Regions from separate parts of the Homo sapiens genome. Here all the other regions are linked to region 1. The links are contacts of gene promoters, found by promoter capture Hi-C in blood cells and fetal thymus (Javierre and others, 2016). All regions are on one chromosome and are shown on one strand. Each heading gives the region's core, a stretch centred on a gene start or on the middle of the fragment in contact. The rest is flanking DNA. Distances are from core to core; before and after follow the strand shown. Region 1 holds the start of TSPAN5 (tetraspanin 5). Region 2 overlaps METAP1 (methionyl aminopeptidase 1). Region 3 overlaps LOC105377340 (a long non-coding RNA gene). Region 4 has its middle 50 kb from the start of RAP1GDS1.

What was found. The method cuts DNA at HindIII sites, captures the fragments that hold promoters and counts their contacts. A CHiCAGO score of 5 or more calls a contact.
Region 2: a fragment that was not itself captured here is called in contact with the fragment with the promoter of TSPAN5 in region 1 in 1 of 17 cell types (erythroblasts); the score reaches 5.5 in erythroblasts.
Region 3: a contact is called between a fragment that was not itself captured here and the fragment with the promoter of TSPAN5 in region 1, in 1 of 17 cell types (total B cells). The highest score is 5.4, in total B cells.
Region 4: a contact is called between a fragment that was not itself captured here and the fragment with the promoter of TSPAN5 in region 1, in 1 of 17 cell types (total B cells). The highest score is 5.2, in total B cells.

Annotation. Positions count from the first base shown.
Region 1 is chr4:98,657,174-98,659,873 of GRCh38, reverse strand. TSPAN5 (tetraspanin 5) reads left to right here and starts at 1,263. Exons shown (of 8, transcript NM_005723.4): 1 at 1,263-1,728. The coding sequence starts at 1,648. TSPAN5-DT (TSPAN5 divergent transcript) reads right to left here and starts at 972. Exons shown (of 3, transcript NR_148380.1): 1 at 852-972. LOC112267901 (a long non-coding RNA gene) reads right to left here and starts at 1,151. Exons shown (of 3, transcript XR_939016.3): 1 at 1,002-1,151. RefSeq lists silencers at 1,106-1,285, 1,539-1,698. The HindIII fragment of the contact is 4,978 bases long and covers 623-2,700 here.
Region 2 is chr4:99,037,849-99,040,548 of GRCh38, reverse strand. It overlaps METAP1 (methionyl aminopeptidase 1), which reads right to left. Exons shown (of 11, transcript NM_015143.3): 5 at 1,084-1,175. Among named protein-coding and RNA genes, the nearest start is that of MIR3684, 42 kb to the right of the region's middle. The HindIII fragment of the contact is 4,344 bases long and covers 1-2,700 here.
Region 3 is chr4:98,191,617-98,194,613 of GRCh38, reverse strand. All of the region lies in intron 1 of LOC105377340 (a long non-coding RNA gene), which reads left to right. Among named protein-coding and RNA genes, the nearest start is that of STPG2, 50 kb to the right of the region's middle. The HindIII fragment of the contact is 1,609 bases long and covers 516-2,124 here.
Region 4 is chr4:98,209,729-98,212,428 of GRCh38, reverse strand. No RefSeq gene overlaps it. Among named protein-coding and RNA genes, the nearest start is that of RAP1GDS1, 50 kb to the left of the region's middle. The HindIII fragment of the contact is 4,901 bases long and covers 1-2,700 here.

The sequences.
Region 1 (2,700 bases), core at 14-2,513:
CTCTCAAACTCAAGTATTTAAGTATCATCTTTTAGATTTCTGTGTCCAGGATCGGGTTGCACTGGGTGGTGCTGGAAAAATTTTTTGATCTCACCTCCTTCTAGCCTTTTGAATCCTTAAAAATATTCCCATAGACATTTATACACAGTCCTGGGCGGTTCTTCCTTCTCCTTCCGTGAAATACTGGTACCTGCTTTGCCAACACCTATGAAAGTGCTCCAGGAGGAGGGCGGATAAGCAACTAATGAGCACACCTGCTCAGGTAGGGTTCTAAAACAATTTCCAGCCACCTGTTCTATTCTTCCCCAGAGTTCAAAAGCTTAATGGTTCGTGATCCAAAAACCCAATTCAGATTCCCCAGAAGACCTCCCTGGAATCCGTTGTGGATTCCTTCCTAGAGTTAGGAGGCAAGCAGGTTTCTTAGGCACTATTCTGTCGGGGTAGGGGGGAGCGTGCGCTGTCCGGGTTTGTGTGGTTGCAATAGACCCTAGGGCGAGGATCGCATCCCGGGCCAGGACTCCCTTGAGCCATCTCTTTTTCCTCGTCCCCATTTCTAGGATAAAACCCATTTCTCCGGTAGGTGGGGAGGTTGGGTTAGAGTCACACAGGGATTCAGGAAGCTTTCCTTTTCAACGTCCCATCCCTTCATCCTTTCCTCCCACTTCCCGTGGCTCTTTTCTCCACCTTCCCCAACTACCCCCTTTTCCATTCAGCGAAGTCCACGACGACTTTCCTTCCCTGTCCAGTGGCATCGCATCTTCTCTAGCCACATAAGCCTGTTGTGGAGGAGGGGGCGCCAGTGTGGCTACCCTGGAAGGGGTGTCGGGGGTGGCTCGCAGGTCCTCACTCACCCAGCCCTCTCCCCGAGGAGCGACCCTCTCGCCCGCGTCCCTCCAGAGCTGCGCCGCTCATCAATCCCGGTCACTCTGCCAGCCTGCTCCCCGGGCGCCCTTCCTTCTCCCTCTCGCCTGCGGTCCTCCACCCTCCCACCCCCTACCTACCCCGCAGCGACGTTCGGGGTCAGCGGCGCTTGGGGTTGGCCCGAGAAGGGGCGGGGATAAAGCGAGCGGTGGAAGGAGGCGGCTACGTGGTGCCACCGCCGCCCGGGAGCGCCCGACCCCGTGCGCGCGCGCGCCTAGCCAAGGCTTGGGCGGCGGGCGGAGCTGCGGGCGGCGCGGGCGGAGGAGCAGCCGGCCGGGCGGGCGGAGCGAGAGGCGGGCGGAGCGAGGGGTGGGAGGGCGCGCGCGAACGGGCGGGCGAGCAAGCGAGCGGCGTCTCCACCAGCATCTGCCGCGGCCGCCTTTGCCCGAAGCCCGGGGACGAACCGACGGACCGACCGCCTGGCGCACGGACGCGGGCGCTCGCTTTGTGTTCGGGGCTAGCGTCGGCGAGGCTTGAGCTTGCAGCGCGCGGCTTCCCTGCTTTCTCGCGGCCACCCCGGCTCCGGCGGCCTCGGCGCGCGAGGGGCTGGAGGTGCGGGAGCCGCTCTCCGCCGGTCGGTCCCCGCGCGGCTGAGCCCAGGCCGCCAGCGCCGCGGCCCCGTGCGGTGTCCCTGAGCTCCTGCTCCCCGCCGGGCTGCTCCGAGCAACGGTGCTTCGGAGCTCCAAACTCGGGCTGCCGGGGCAAGTGTCTTCATGAACCCAGAGGATGTCCGGGAAGCACTACAAGGGTCCTGAAGTCAGTTGTTGCATCAAATACTTCATATTTGGCTTCAATGTCATATTTTGGGTAAGTTGGAGCGCTCCTGGGATTCCAACTATTGTGGCCGATCGATTCGCGACGATTTCCCCCACGTTGTTCGTTGCCTTTACTTTTCGCAGCCCCGCAGGCGCTTGCCGGAGCAGCATAGAGGCATTCGCCTTCCGCCTTTCCAGCTTGCGCGTTGGAGAGATAAACATTTAATCCTTTCGAGGAATGGGAAGAGGTGAAAAGAGAAATCGAGGCGGAAAGGGGGCACCGAGGCCTTCTGGTGGCTTTTTGAGGAACGAATAGCAGGGATGCAGATAAAAGAAAGGGTTCGGCAGTTTGAGAAATGAGCAACCACACGAATTGGATTTGCTCTCGGTGGGATATAGATGTTGGGCAGAGCGTGGTGTCATAATAGGGAAGGCTAATCGGGCACGGCCGACCCTGAGGTCCACCTTCTAACAACGATCTGATTGGACGAGGGCTTGGCTCCGTGTTGCCGCGGCTGGTCTGTGCCATGCTCAGCGTGTATCTTCTTGCACCATCTCGGGCTTTGTGTAGGATGCAGATGCCGTGGTATATGGTCCTGTAATTGCACGTAAATAACGTTTCCTGCACGCTCTCCTCTTCAGCTGGAAAGCGCTCCCTGTGCGTAATGGACTGGTCAGTGGGGGTGCGGGGTAGAGGGATTTATTTGTATGTATATATCATCGTCAGGATAATAAGTCACCGTCAACATATATTTCAGTGTGTTCCTGCCCCACGTCCTCATTTTTAAAGGAGTGACACAGAGCGGGCCGTTTGGGGGAACCTTTGTAGAAATGCAAAGGAGAAGGTGTGCGAGGCATGTTTTATTGGGGAACCGAGAGAGCAAATGCTTTAACACAAGATTCAAATGATGCTCTGCTTGGGACTGCAATGTGTTGGGAACCTATTGTAATTAGGCTGGGACGCCTACTCTTTTTGTTTGTTTGTTTGTTTTGATTCTTTTCCTTGATCTGGCAAACGTGTTCA
Region 2 (2,700 bases), core at 137-2,636, 380 kb before region 1:
TCTATATGATCTATGATTGTGCCACTGTACTCTAGCCTGAGTGATAGCAAGACCCTGTCTCAAAAAAAAAAAAATAGATGAATGAATTCCTCAAAGAATCACAGCAAGTCATAGGAAGAGAAAGTTCTCCAGGATATCAAACAAAATTAGAATCAAATCACTTTTAAAGCACTGAATAGAAACCTTAAGAATCTTACTTAAATGAATAATATCAATGTATTATATTTTCCTTCAGAATAAATATGTGATTTCACCTAATGAGTACCAACCACTACTACCACTCATCATAGGTATTTCACAAAAAGGCCTACAGCATAACCCTCTGAGCCTTAAACTCTGTCCTATGTTATGATGACTTGTGAAAATAAAATGACAAAATGTTTTTAAATATCATTAAATAAATGAAAAGGATTGTCATCTAAATATAGACTATCCACCAGATTAATTCTGAAATAGGCTTTTAAGAAGAAAACTGTTGACTAAAATTATATACTAACAATAGTTTAATGAAAAGCATGGCTAAACCGGGCACAATGGCTCACGCCTGTAATCCCAGCACTGTGGGAGGCCGAGGCGGGCAGATCACCTTACGTCAGGAGTTAGAGACCAGCCTGGCCAACATGGTGAAACCCTGTATCTACTAAAAATACAAAAAAAGGCCAGGTGTGGTGGCTCACGCCTGTAATCCCAGCATTTTGGGAGGCCAAGGTGGGCAGATCACGAGGTCAGGAGTTCGAGACCAGCCTGGGCAACATGGTGAAACCCCATCTCTACTAAAAATACAAAAATTAGCCAGGTGTGGTGGTGGGCACCTGTAATCCCAGCTACTCAGGAGGCTGAGGCAGAAGAATCGCTTGAAAACAGAAGGTGGAGGTTGCAGTGAGCAGAGATCACGCCACTGCACTCCAGCCTGGGCGACAGAGTGAAACTCTGTCTCAAAAAAAAGTTAAAAAAAAAAAAAAAGCATGGCTGGTCAGTCTAACAATATAACATTTGCTATCTTTATAAATCAGCAAACCACTGACTTCATGTCTAAGTACTGCTTAAACATTTCCTACCCCATGGAGAAAAAATCACTCTTACCCTACATACAAGTCGCATCCCTTCTATATCTTCAGATGAGAGTAATTTAATCTGAGAAGTACCTTTAAGAGCCTGTTCAGATTCAGACATTCCTGGAATGAAAATTCGGTAAGTAAAACCAAAATGAATGCAAAGATGTAGTATTTATTTGCATAATTATAAACCTGTGGCATAAAAACAGTAGTCTCACTGTTTCACACAACAGTAATTCATGATTTGGGATGGTCTAGGTTAGATTTTTAAAAAAAAACATTTTCAACATCAAAGGGAAACTCGCTAAACCAACTGAAGAAAAAATTCTAAAAGATAAATTTTCAGACCTATTAGAAATCAGCCAATACTTATAGAGTACTTATTATATGCCAGGCCGTGTGATAATCAGACTCAGTAAATGATATACATTTGAAAAGTACCACAGAATTTACAAATTACTTTCATAATCATCTCATGAAGCAATTATACATCAACAACTGATGAATTAATTACACTATTTTCTGAAACAGGAACCAAAGTTAAGTGTTTTTCAATCTCCAGTTTGTGACCTTTTATTAGGCTACACTTAACATTTTTTAAAAGTAAATAAATGGGACAGAAAATATTAAAATGGCATAACAAAGTATTATACTCGTATTATACGGAGTAGGAATAAGTGCTGCCATGAAATCTTTATTTATATACACATACAAAGATCACGTTATAAAAGCCATTTCTGAGTCATACTCAAAAAAGTTTTAAAAATATTGCCCTAAAAATCTTCACTAATAAAATTTGTTAGCTTCAAGTTTTACATACATGAAAAGTAATAAAGCCAGGATAGCAATTAACTCAAAATCTAACAAAAATAATGTCAACTAATCTTATTTACAAGTACTAATGGAAAAATTCCAAATAAAAATATTAACAAACAGAATCCAAAAAAACTTAATACATCAGGATGCAAGTGAGATTCATACCAGAAGGCAAGGATAGTTCAATACTGACAAATCTATTCATCCAATTCATCATTCATAAATAAAGTAAAAGTAAATAATCATCTAGAAGGAAAGTTAATTCTGATAACATGGCCAGCTACCACCTTGACATGATAAATATAAATCTCAAACTGAGAACCAACATTACAGAATGCCCACTATCGGCACTATTATTTAACACTGTCCTGGCAATACTAGCAGATGCAATTAAACAAGAGAAAGAAATAAAACATATAAAACTAGAAAAGAAAGGACAAAATTCTTATCAATTTCAGATGTGATTATGTATCTCTAGAACAGAAGAATCACCTGGTAAATGACCATAAATACAAATTCAGCAAGTTGGCATATTGTTTAAGATAAATTTATCAAAATCAATAACTTTCCCACATACAAATAATCAGCTAAAAAATACAGAAGCTATTATGTACAAAAACAACTAAAAAGATGAAGTACCCAGGAATAAATTTAACAATAAAATCCCTACATGAAGAAAATCTGAAAACACCACTGAAAGACATAAAAGGAGTCAAATAAAACTTTAAAAACATACCCTGTTCCTGGACAGGAAGACTCAATATTGTAAAGATGTCAATTCTTCCAAAATTAATCTATAAATTTAATACTATCCCAATAAAAAAATGTC
Region 3 (2,997 bases), core at 71-2,570, 470 kb after region 1:
CTGGAAGTTCAAGGGACTTAGAGCTAAAAGATTTACAGCAAATTAGACATTCTAGGCTAGAAGGGAATGGAGGTGGACAGGCACTCATGAACCCTTAAAACCTTTTAAGCAACACAGGAGTCAAAAACTAAACCCAAAAGCAGGATTACAAAGTTGACTTATCTATAAAGTCTATGCATTGAGCTACTGTAATCTTGGTTTTAGTTAGATTTGTAGCAATTAGCTATATAAAACATATACATTTTGCTAAAACATTAAAGCTAAGGAATTTAGAGACTTTTGTTGTGCTGCAATGTGTTTTGTGGTCTCTTTAGCAATTTGTCCTAAAGTGGCCAATAAAATATTTTTTGTCATCTCTATTTGCATAAACTGCACAATTAGGAACAATTATACCCAGAAGGCTCTGTCACTGTTGTGAAAAGTAAAAAGTTCCTCTTCAAAGTTTCCCTTTTCGTTAAAGAATAAATAAGTGTTAGAAATAATAGTTTCTTTTAAAAACTAACTTCCTTCAAGCTTCCTTGCTTTTTGCTAATAACTCTTTGCTAAGCCCTGTGTAGCTGTTACATATAGTAAGGGAATAAGTACATTCTATGTCCTTGTACTTCAACCAAGTTATTTATTCTGGCCTATAACCTGCTCAGACGTATCTGAACATGCCCAGGCATTTCCTGGCTTACAGCCTACGCCCCTTCCTTATTTGGAAATGTTATTGTTCTCCTAGTTTCCCATAAACAACCCCCTTCCTTTCCTTGTTCTCTGTCGCACATTTGCCTGTTTAGGAAAGTTTTAAGTTTTTAGCTAATCGGGATCAGTCTAGATTGTGCAGTCCAGCTCCAGCCAATGGAGATAGGACACAGCAGTAAGGACCCAATGCGTCAGGAATAAAAACCTCTGCTTTTCTTTGTTCAAGGTGCTCTCGTGACAATCAGGCTTCCAAAAAGCACCCTTTCTGCAGAAAGTAAAATTGCCTTGCTGAGAAAATTCTTTGAGCGCTAGTTCTTCTTTTTGGCACCAAGGAACAAGCATTTATTTCTAACACTAGGTATCTTGATATCGTCTTGGTAATTCTCTTTTAAGCAAATAGACTAGCTTTTATCAGACCTACCCCCAATGTCAACAACAGCTTTAAAAGAAACTGAATGAAATAAAAAAATTTGGTTTGAAAATATCAGAGAACTAGGCAACTGGGAACTAGGAACCCATCAACCAAGATCTTGGAAAGAAGACACAGAAATTGAGATGATCCTAACAGTCTTTGTTATTTATCCCCTCAAGGAATTTGCTGATTGTGGGTGGTATAGAATGAGGGGATTAGAAATTAAACAGAAAGCCAGGCACGGTGGCTTACGCATGTAATCCTAGCCCTTTGGGAGGCCAAGGCAGGCGGATCACCTGAGGTCAGGAGTCAAGACCAGCCTGACCAACATGGAGAAACCCCATCTCTACTAAAAATACAAAATTAGCTGGGCATGGTGGCGCATGCCTGTAATCCCAGCTACTCAGGAAGCTGAGGCAGGAGAATCACTTGAACCCTGGAGGTGGAGGTTGCAGTGAGCCGAGATCATGTCATTACACTGCAGCCTGGGCAACAAGAGTGAAACTCTGTCTCAAAAAGAAAGAAAGAAAAAAAAGAAATCAAACAGAAAGCATTGACCAAGAGATTCATTAAGCAGAATTTTTATCAGTCTTATGATACTGGGGAGACAAAATTTGGAGTTCAGCATCCATCCAAGGCAAATGACTCTTGTAAACACTCCAGATTTTTTAGTGAAACCTATGGAAGGATAATCCTAGGAGTGGTGTAAACTGAAAATACAGAGCCATTGCAAAGACTAAAACTCAGCTGTTAGGCTGGGCATGGTGGCTCATGCCTGTAATCCCAGCACTTTGGGATGTAGAGGTGGGAGGATTGCCTGAGGCCAGGAGCTTGAGACCAGCCTGGGCAACATATCAAGACCATGTCTCTACAAAAAAATTAAATTAAATTAAGTTTAATTTTTAAAAAAGAAACTTAGCTTTGAATCAGTACCATCACAGAATATATTCAGGTGATCTAGCTCTATTTGACTGCCTACCAGAAAAATAAAAAGTAATCTCCAGAGAAAGAAAACATCATTGAAAGCTTCAAGTTATTACTACAACTTTTCATACACAATGCCCAATATTTAGTAGAAAATTGTAGGCATACCAGGACACAGAATAAATGACCACATCACAAGAAAAAAACAAAAACCGGCCAGTTATGATGCCTCATACCTGTAACCCCAGCACTTTGGGGAGCAGAGGCAGGAGGATCATTTGAGGCCAGGAGTTCAAGACCAGCATGGGCAACATAGGAAGACCCCACCTCTGAAAAAAATAAATTAGCTGAGTATGGTGGCACATGCCCGTGGTCTCAAATAAATAAATATATAAAAAGAAACAGGTGGCCGGGCACAGTGGTTCACGCCTGTAATCCCAACACTTGGGGAGGCCAAGGCGGGCAGATCACAAGGTGAGGAGTTCGAGACCAGCCTGACCAACATGGCGAAACCCCGCCTCTACTAAAAATACAAAATTGGCCGGGCATGGTGGTGTGCACCTGTAATCCCAGCTACTCAGGAGGCTGAGGCAGAAGAATCGCTTGAACCCAGGAGGCAGAGGTTGCAGTGAGCTGAGATTGTGCCACTGAGCAACAGAGTGAGATTCTGTATCAAAACAAACAAACAACAAAAGAAACAGGCAAACAAACACATAGAGATCCACATATTGTGTTTATTGCACATGGGCTTCTTTTATTTTTATTTTTTATTTTTGAGACAAGGTCTTGATCTGTCACACAGGCTGGAGTGCAGTGGTGTGATCATGACTCACTGCAGCCTCTACCTCCTGGGCTCAGGTAATCCTACTGTCTCAGCTTTCAGAGTAGCTGAGATTACAGACACTCATCACCACTCCCAGCTAATTTTTAAATTTTTTTTGTAGAGAGAGGGTCCCACTCTGTTACCTAGGCTGGTC
Region 4 (2,700 bases), core at 193-2,692, 450 kb after region 1:
CTAGTCCCAGCTACTCAGGAGGCTGAGGCAGAGAATGGCGTGAACCTGGGAGGTGGAGCTTGCGGTGAGCCGAGATCGCGCCACTGCACTCCAGCCTGGGCGACAGAGCCAGACTCCGTCTCAAAAAAAAAAAAAAAAATTAGATTTCAAGAAACTTCCCATCCAAATTGCATATTGTAGCTTAACTTCAAGAACTTATTTTTAGGCCAGGTGTGATGGCTCATACCTGTAATCCTAGCACTTTGGGAGGGTGAGGTGGGAGGATTGCTTCAATCCAGGAGTTCAAGACCAGGCTAACCAACATGGTAAAACCCCATCTAAAAAAAAAAATACAAAAATTGGCTGGGTGCAGTGGCTCACACCTGTAATCCCAGCACTTTGGGAGGCTGAGGCAGACAGATCACAAGGTCAGGAGTTCGAGACCAGCCTGGCCAACATAGTGAAACCCCGTCTCTACTAAAAATACAAAAAAATTAGCTGGGCGTGGTGGTGGACGCCTGTAAACCCAGCTACTTGGGAGGCTGAGGCAAGGAGAATTGCTTGAACCTGGGAGGCAGAGGTTGTAGTGAGCCGAGATCGCACCATTGCACTCCAGCCCGAGTGACAGTGAGAGACTCCGTCTCAAAAACAAAACAAAACAAAACAAAAAAACCCACAAAAATTAGCCCGGTGTGATGGCACATACCTGTAGCCCCAGCTACTAGGGAGGCTGAGGTAGGATGATCACCTGAGCCCGGAAAGTTGAGGTTGCAGTGAGCCATGATCATGCCACTGCACTTCAGCTTGGGCAACAGAGTGAGAGCCCGTCTAAAAAAAACCCTTATTTTAAAAACATTAAAAACATTTTGATTTCTCATCTAATCATAATTTTGAAAGCATTATTGTCACTTTCCAATGATCATTATACTAACCAGTAAAATTTCAGTCTTTTCCTTTTACATCTCAGATGAAAACAGGTCTTCACATTAAAAAATATTTGCAGTCCTTCTAGCTGAAGTTTTTTCTTTCTTTTTTTTTTTTTTATCAGGCAGCATCCTGAGCCAGAGTAGGCTCAGAGAGACTCCAGGCTAATTGAGTATTAATTAATATACTGTTGCTAATAATCCATACTTTCTATATTAATAGTGAGGTTTATTATATATGAAATGTTACTCATAGTAGATATCATTCATTACTTAATAAATGAAACTTCACACTTACAAAATTGACAAAATAGGGAGCTAACACATTATCTGAAGTTAAGATATTTGCTGGAGGAATACAACATGTATTAGTCACCTATCTGTTCAGGTCCATTAACATATTTTATTTTATTTATTATTTTTTAATATTTTTAATTTTTAACATTTAAAAAGTATAAAAGGTAGGAGAATTCTGTGAAGAACCTGGACATACTCAGGCAAAACAGGATTCTGCAATAGAAAGAAATAATGAAAGAGCAGATCATGGAGTAGAGAAGGCATTGCTAAGGTCTGCCCAAATGTTCAAAAACCGAAGGCAAAAATTGCTGATCACTAGGTGCCTTGCTCATCTGGAATGCTATTATCTGACGATAGCCAGCAAACCACAATAATGATCACCATAGCAATCTTTTCCTTCTTGAAAGCTCTGGACTCAGCCAAATGGAGAATTTGTTTTCCATGGTAATACCTCTCCAATTCTGTAATTAAAATAACAAATATCATTTTGCCAAATTAGCTTTTCAGACAGTTATATAGAATCCCATCTGTCCTTAAAGAGTTGGGTACCTGAATAATCATTTTAATACTGTTTTAATACAATTGCTGGAAAAATAATAATTGTGTTTTGGCTGCAACAATCCACATTTATTAATTGAAGCTGCAATAATACTAGTGACATTGGCAGAGTAGGAAAAAAAAAACCCGTATGTTAGTTAGGCTGGTTCTGAATATCTGTTTTCTTTCCTTGTTAGTGTTTATCCACTTGGAGCTGAATGAAGCATAAAGGCCAAATGAGAATCTGGCAGTTATTCAACCAGAAAATGTCAACAAATCAGGAAGTTTTCATCTAGAAAACTTTGCCCAGAAATAGATGTTAGAAATAATGGCAAAAAATAAAGGTTAGAAAAAGCATGAAATGAGTTTGGACATCAAAAATTGACATGTACACCTATATACATTGTTTTATTCCTTGTGAAAATGTCGGGAATGTCATCATTTATTATTGGCTACATGTTAACAACTCAGGGTAACCTATCACAGTAGCAGAGATGAAAAGTACTCACGCTAGACTTAGGAGGTGGAAGTAATGGTCAGGAAAGTAGTGTATAAAAATGGTGAAAGAAAACCAACCACGGGAATGAGGGGTGGGTAAGAGACAAATAAGAAACTCTCCCTTGCAAACTACATATGACCCCAAGTCTATGCGAAACAACATTCCCATATATTCTCTGACCAGGGTTGCACCAAAAATGGGCCCATTGAAGACCAGTAAGAAAAAAATTACCAACTTCAGCTACTATTTTGCAATAATGCATGTTATATGGCGTAAATCTGAACTAAGCGTGCATCTGCTCACACAGCCTTAAAGCATATAAAATCCATAATAATATTACCATTCCACAACAAAAACATGGCCTGGCACAGTGGCTAACACCTGTAATCCTAGCACTTTAGGGCTGAGGTGGGAGGATCTCTTGAGCTCAGGAGTTCAAGACCAGCCTGGGCAACAAAGTGAGAC